Regions from separate parts of the Homo sapiens genome. Here region 2 is linked to region 1. The links are contacts of gene promoters, found by promoter capture Hi-C in blood cells and fetal thymus (Javierre and others, 2016). All regions are on one chromosome and are shown on one strand. The core of a region is centred on a gene start or on the middle of the fragment in contact, and the rest is flanking DNA. Distances in the headings are between cores, read along the strand shown. Region 1 holds the start of ZNF18 (zinc finger protein 18). Region 2 holds the start of USP22 (ubiquitin specific peptidase 22).

What was found. Contacts are between HindIII fragments. The CHiCAGO score rates a contact against its expected background, and 5 or more counts as called.
Region 2: the fragment with the promoter of USP22 here is called in contact with the fragment with the promoter of ZNF18 in region 1 in 1 of 17 cell types (total CD8 T cells); the score reaches 8.8 in total CD8 T cells.

The regions. Positions count from the first base shown.
Region 1 is chr17:11,995,985-11,999,601 of GRCh38, reverse strand. ZNF18 (zinc finger protein 18) reads left to right here and starts at 2,127. Exons shown (of 7, transcript NM_001303281.2): 1 at 2,127-2,171. RefSeq lists enhancers at 1,559-1,638, 1,709-1,948, 1,063-2,046 and a silencer at 1,979-2,428. The HindIII fragment of the contact is 4,230 bases long and covers 932-3,617 here.
Region 2 is chr17:21,041,218-21,044,898 of GRCh38, reverse strand. USP22 (ubiquitin specific peptidase 22) reads left to right here and starts at 1,888. Exons shown (of 13, transcript NM_015276.2): 1 at 1,888-2,234. The coding sequence starts at 2,064. RefSeq lists enhancers at 170-1,117, 1,118-2,067 and a silencer at 1,603-2,202. The HindIII fragment of the contact is 4,087 bases long and covers 588-3,681 here.

The DNA of each region.
Region 1 (3,617 bases), core at 878-3,377:
AATATTTATTGAATGAGTAAGTGAATAATAGAAATAGATGACACCTTTTCATTATTTCCTAAGCTGAGGTAGATATCTCCCTATTTTAAAAAATATTTTGATTGTTCAGCCTGTTTCGAAATAAGTGTTTATGCCTTTTCCTAAGGTGCCAGTTTATAAAGAAATTATTAAACTTCAAAGTGTCATTTTCATATCAGGAACCATCTACCAGGATTAGAGTTCTCAAACTGAGGTTTGTGGGTTCCAAGGATGGGTTTCAAGGCTGTGTTAGCTCCCTGGATTTGAGTGCAAAGTGTTGTATGTAGATGTGTATGTGCATTTTTCTTGGGAAAAATTTTACCTTCCATCAGATTCACAAAGGAGTCAGAACCCAATTAATGGTTTTGAATTACTGTTATCTTCCTTGGGTGTTGATCAGCTAAAAGCGAACACATTGAAGATAAAACTCCTATAATCTTCCCCTCTAAACCACCTTATCTCTTGACTTTCTTAGAAGCAGAGCACATTGATGTTGGAAGCAATACCCAATGAAGGTGTCCCTCTAAATGTGCCTGGTAAATTGTTAGCCATGCTGTCCTCAGGAACTCAAAGCAGCGCCATCAATCACATGAATGTTAGAAACGTCCAGCTAGGTGCCATGGCTCATGCCTGTAATCCCAGCACTTTGGGAGGCCAAGGTGGGTGGATCACTTGAGGTCACGAGTTCGAGACCAGCCTGGCCAACATGGTGAAACCCCGTCTCCACCAAAAATACAAAAAAAAAAAAAAAAAAAAAAAAAGACTAGAAACTTCCACCTATGTCAGGCTGAAACAGTAGTTTCACACATAGGATCTTGTTCAGACCCTGGGACTTAAGAGAACATGTCGAATCCCTTTTCCGCTGGTCACTTTTCAGGTACATGAAGATGTAATCCCATCCCCGCATCAAGCTTTATTTCTCCAGAGGAGGATCTTTAATTCTTGTAAACATGGGACAGGTACAGGACATGTTATGATAATGACAGGTACAGGACATGTTATGATAATGACAGGTACAGGACATGTTATGATAATGACAGGTACAGGACATGTTATGATAATGACAGGTACAGGACATGTTATGATAATGACAGGTACAGGACATGTTATGATAATGACAGCTCTTCTTTAAATTTTTATTTTTTATTTATTTTATTTCCATAGGTTATTGGGGAACATGGCAGCTTTTTTTGAATACCCTCCTCTTTGCCAGTTGCCCAAGGTGGAACACCCAAACTTTGACATGATACTTCCATTAATGCAACTTAGTATCACAAGTTGATGTCGTGGCCCAGCACAGGATGGCCTGGAAACCGGCAACACTGGACGCTGGGGAAAGGGTAAGAAGGTCTTGACCATTACAAATGGTGTGGAACTGAGCCGAGGGAGGGATAGTGAGAAGGGAGAGAGGGTGAGGTGTCTGAGAGACAATGAGGTCAAATCAGAGGATTCAGCCATTGTTGGCGTGTGGGAAAGGGAAGGAGAAGGGAAGAGTCAGGGATGACATTTGTTGAGAGAGAGAGAGAGAAGAGAGAGAGACGCAGGTGGAAAGAGGATGGCACCACATTGGACTAGCCCCAACGGAATGGGGAGAAGTGGGAGAGGACCCAGGGGATGCAGAGCTGATGAGAGTGGGAGAACCAAGACAGAGGAAGAAGGTTGGGGCAAATCAAGTGTCTCAGGGAGGCCCAGTGAGGCAAGAACGGAAAGGAGAAAGGCGGCGGTTAAGAATCAGGGATAATGGCAGAGCGTTGCAGCTCTGCGGGTGGGACTGGGCGGAAGGGTTTGGGAGAGACAAAGAAATGATCTTTGAAGGCCTCGCAGTGCTTGGCCGAGTGCCTGGCACAGAATAGGTGCGCAATAAATGACGGGTGAGAAGTGAAGGAACTCAGGAACAGTGATTAGTGAGTGAGTGACGGAAGGAACGGAGGATGGCGTTGGCTCGGGAACCTCGCTGCCATGTCGGTGGAGGCTCCTGGGCTGCAACGCCAGAGAGAGGCGGGGCGTCCCCGACGGCCAATAGGAGCTTCGGTATCAGCTCCGCCCCCGCCCCCTAGCTCCGCCCGGTGCCGCACGTCGTTCGCCTGCCGCCTGAGGCGCGCGCAGCCACCCAGCTCCCGGAAGTGCGCCCGGAGCCGGCGCCGCGGGCCGAGGTGAGCGCGCTTGCGGGGCGGTCCCGGCCTCCGGCCGCTCGGGGTCAGGCCTTGCGCTATCTGCGTCCGCACCTGACTCAGCTGGGCACCCCGGAGCTACGGAGGGGCCAGCGGGCTCCCTTGCCCATGCGTCTGGGAGCGCGCGGGGGACGTGGCGAGTGCGGGGCCGGGGCAGCCATGGCTGGGAGTGGACCGTGGGTGCGGGGGGATGTGTGAACCCCGTCCCGGCTCTGCATTCCTGCGCCTCTGCGCCCCGCGGGACCGGCCGGGTCTCTGCACTGGGACCGAAAACGGGCTCCTCCCCGCTGTCTTCCCCTAAGGGCTGAAAATGAGTCTCTGGAAGAGGAAACCCGATGGGATGATGCCTGGAGTCTCTCCCTCTCTCATCAGAGTGCAGTCGGCATTTGGGGGGCGCATGGTGGAGAATACATATCCAATGAGCAGCGCTGCCCTGGCCTCGAGCACTAAATGCCAGTTCCCCTAGCTGCTTGTGACAACCAGAAAACGCCCCAACAAATCACCAGACGTTGGCAGTTCTCCCCAAAGCAAAGGCTTTAGAGCTTCCTGGGTTAATCTGGCTGCCACTTGTGAGCCTCGGAGGTTCCTGATCTGTACACCAGGGTAATTGTGGGAATTGGAAATACATGAACCGAGCTTAATAATGAGCCGATACGTAGTAGGTGCTTAACAAATGGTTACTTATATATGTAACCATGTATGTAACCACTTGTGTATATTACACCTAGAATGCACTTTTAAAAATTCATTCTATTTGTTAAAGGTTTAATAACAGGTATAACAGACAACCTTATTTTTTTTTCATAACTAATGGGGGCAGTTCCTCATGAGGTTATCGGAATATAAACTCTATTAAATTTTTAATACTATATAAAGTAATTTAATTTTGAATAATCGAGACATTTTTCTTACACACTACCTGGGAGTATAATATTACTAACAAAAGATTTAAGTATTTTATAAAATCTGTAGTTTTTCCAAAATGTCATTTCTCTTAAATATTATCTAAACTGCTATCTTAATTTAGGAAACAGATAAATTGCAGTAAGTTTACAGGTCGGTATCTTGCTATCTAAAATCTTGCCGCTTGTTATTTGAAACTCTTGAGCCAAATAGGTTGGATTTACAAAGCAAGGTATTTTTAAAAATATATTTATTCGTTTTTTAAGATGTTATTTGAAACTGTAGGTTTACCTCTGAGCTAAAGCTGCTTTTCAGGTGGTTTGATAATGCTGTCATTGTCACTCAGTATGAAAACATATTTTAATTTCCTTTGTGATTTTTTTCTTTGACTATGGGTTAAGAGCATTATTTAGTAATTTCCATAAATTGGGATTTTCTAGTTATTGTTATTGATTTCTACTTTAATTGCACTATGATCAGAGAATATATTTGAACCCAGGAAGCTCTAAAGTTTTCCATTTGACC
Region 2 (3,681 bases), core at 639-3,138, 9.0 Mb before region 1:
GAAACCCCATTTCTAGTAAAAGTTCCAGATCAACATGGTGAAAGCCCCTCTCTACTAAAAATACAAAAATTAGCGGCGTGGTGGCAGGCGCCTGTAATATCAGCTACTGGGGAGGCTGAGGCAGGAGAATCGCTTGAATCTGGGAGGCGGAGGTTTCAGTGAGCCGAAATTGCACCACTGTACTCCAGCCTTGGGCAACAGAGCGAGACTCTGTCTCAAAAATAAAAAATAAAAAAAAAAGATTACCCTCTCGTAATTTTTCATGCTATTAAGGGAAGAGACAATAAAAAAAATAAGTAAATATTCATTACGCCAGATAGTGATAAATTCTTTGGAGAAAAACAAAGCAGGGTAAGGGAATGGAGAATTTTGGGGGGCTTGCAATTTTCATTAGGGTGGCAATTTTCCTTTTCACGGAAAAGGAGGTGTGTGATAAAGCTGGAAGGAGGTGAGCGAGCATCAGACATGGAATATAAGGATGCAGAGGGTGAGGGGGTAGGGAAAGCATTTTAGGGAGAGGGTACTGCAAGCACGAAGGCCATGAGGCAAAAACCTGTGCTCGGCAATTTGTCTTGGCCACAAAAGCTTTATCCCAGTCGTCAGTCCATTAAACCCTGTAGCTTTAAGTGTTGTGAGATCACAATCTTTATTTTTTAACTTGTGATGGTTCTGGACGGCAATTGCTGTTTCCTGCAATCTGTGGATGAATGAATGAGCAAAGCAGTTAGCAGCGGGATGAGTACAGGGGAGCAGCTCCACACCTGACACCTTATCCAAGTTCCCCCAGACCCTTGGCGCCCTGGTTCCCCCAGAACTTCGTTTGCATTCGTCTTTAAATGTCTTCTCAGTTTGCCTTGGGTCAGTTATTTGTATACCGATTAGACCTGTGCCGCCCACTGCGGTAGCAGCTAGTAGGAATTGGATGTGCTTTAAGTGTAAATACCAGATTTCCAAGACTTGCTGCAAAAACTGTAAAACATTCCACTAACGATTTTGCAATACTGCCTACATGCTGAAATAATTTGACTTTATTGGGTTGAGATATATTACTGTAACTTTCTTTTTTCATTAGAAAAATGTAGCCACTAGCAAATGTGAAGTGTCAGGCGTGTGGCGCGCAGATGCCTCTTTAAACTGGATGGCGCCGGGTTGGCCCTCACTATCAGCGGGCTCCCGACAGGAGGCGCCCCAGCTTGCGGCCGGGGGCAGCGCCTACCAGGCAGTTGGCAGGCAGTTCCAGCCCCGGGCCACGGCACTGCAGGGCCCGAGCCAGGTTACGGCAACCGGGGGCCCTGCAAACAGCTCCCGATTAGGGGGTGCTTTTGGGTGGGAAAGCGCAGGCCCTGGATGGAGGCCCGACCTGCGGCGCTCCAGCTCATCGCCCCGCCTCTTTGCGGCAGAGCTCAGGCCGGCGCAAACCGGTTCAGTGCTAGGACTGACGTCTCGCGCCGCCCAACCGCAGCACGCCCCCGCCTCCCCAGTCCTCTGGAAGAGACAGGGAACGTCTAGCCGCCAGGGTCCCGGGAGGCGGCTCTGTACCAGACGGACTATACTGAGAGCCTATGACAATAGCCGAAGGTGCCGGGGGGGGGGGGGGGGTGGCCTACTACCAATAAAGGAAGGGGAGGGGCGGGCCCTCGTTAGCTTCCCCCCCCTACCACGCTTCCTCGGGCGCGGGTCTACCCAGAGCCTAACGGGCGCGCGAGTGTGGGGGAAGGGCCTGGCGCGGGCTGGAGACTGCGCAGTGCGGTGCCGGCCGGGAGGGGGGGGGGGGGTGACGTAATCTCCGTCCGCGGCCGCGGCGCCCCGCCCCGCGACACCCTCCGCGAACCGCGAGAGCGCAGCGCAGGCGGTCCGCAGCAGCCGCAGCTCGGGGGCGGTGCCTGCCTTGCAGCCTCCCCTCGGCGATCGCGCAGCCCCATCTTTGTCCGGCCTCCGCGCTTTGTTCTCGGCGCCCGGGCCTTGGCCAGCCTGGCCAGCCGCCGAGCAGCCCCCACGCCGCGCTGGCGTCGTCCTCGCCTCCCTCGCCGCCGCCCCCCGCGCGCGGCCGGGCCTTGCCCCCCATGGTGTCCCGGCCAGAGCCCGAGGGCGAGGCCATGGACGCCGAGCTGGCGGTAGCGCCGCCGGGCTGCTCGCACCTGGGCAGCTTCAAGGTGGACAACTGGAAGCAGAACCTGCGGGCCATCTACCAGTGCTTCGTGTGGAGCGGCACGGCTGAGGCCCGCAAGCGCAAGGTGCGCCCGGCAGCCCACCGCGCGGCGGGCTCGGGGCCTTCTGCCGCTCCTGAGGCCGGCCGGCGGAGGGGCCCTTTTCCTGCCCTCTTCCCTTCCCCCGTTGCCTTTCCCTGTCCTTCCTCTTCCTCTCTCCTTCTGCCCTCTCTTCTCTTTACCCCTTCCCCCTCCTTTCCTTCCCCCCTCAACTCTCTCCCTTCCCTTATCTCCTCATCTTCCTATCCTTCCCCTCTCCCCCCTTCCCCCATTCTTCCTTTCCCTCCCCCTCCTCTCTGTCCCCTCCCCCTCCTCTCTGTCCCCTCCCCCTCCTTTCTCTCCGCCCTCCCCCTCCCTTATCCTTCTTGGCCCGGGAGGGGCGAGTGCTTCCGGGCCGGGGGTGGTGTTCTCCTGCCCTGCTGCCTGGGGAGCCTGGGACTTCGGTGGGCGGTCCCGGGCGTTCCTGCGCGAGGTCCTTGCGGGGAACTCTCCTGGTTCTGGAGGGTTCGGGGCTGGATGCGGGTGCAGAGAAAGAAATATTTCAAAAAAATGAGTAAAGGATGGGGGGCTGTCGAGTTCTGGGCGTTGGTCTGCAGCGGTCACCCGCCGCCAGGAGCGACCTTGGACGGGAGCTGGGGCAGGAGGCGGGCTGGGGGGCGCGGGGCCGGAGCTTCGCGGCTGCCTCGGGGCCCGCGAGGAGCTGGAGGTGGAGGGCGGCAGGGGCTGGGGCCGGGGCGAGCCTGTGGGTGCGGAGCCACAGCCCGGGTTTGCGTTGCGGCTGAGGAGTAGACTTGGAAGCGCGCCGTGGGCTGTGGGAGGCCTTAACCAGGAGTGAGTCCCCTCGGGGAGCCCAGTCTTGCGTCCCGCAGTTAGGCTTGGTAAGGGTTTGGAAATCAAAACGTAACGTGATTCTTCTATGTGAATAAAGTTTATTTTTACAGTTTCACGCGCTTTTGTAGATTACAATCCGAGATTGGGAGTTGTGAGGGCAGTTTCCACCTTGAGTGGCATTTTTTTATTTATGGGAATACCAACAGGCTCGCTGAGATTGTAGGGTATGTTAAGCAGTAATTCAAAAAAAAAATTATTTTTTTGAGACGAAGTCTCGCTTTGTACCCCAGGCTGGAGTGCAGTGGCGCGATTTCGGCTCACTACAATCTCCGCCTCCCGGGTTCAGCCGATTCTCCTGCCTCAGCCTCCTGAGTAGCTGGGATTACAGGCTCCTGCTACCACGCCCGGCTAATTTTTGTATTTTTAGTAGAGACGGGGTTTCACCATGTTGGCCAGGCTGGTCTGGAACTCCTGATCTCAGGTGATCCACCCGCCTCTGCCTCCCAAAGTGTTGGGATTACAGGCATGAGCCACCGTGCCCGGCCTCAAAATTTTTTTTATCTGTAATGGTATCAGGTAGCGTTATGTCTGGATGAACTAAAATCAGACATAAAACGTTTCAGGATCGGAGTTAGAGTCTTGC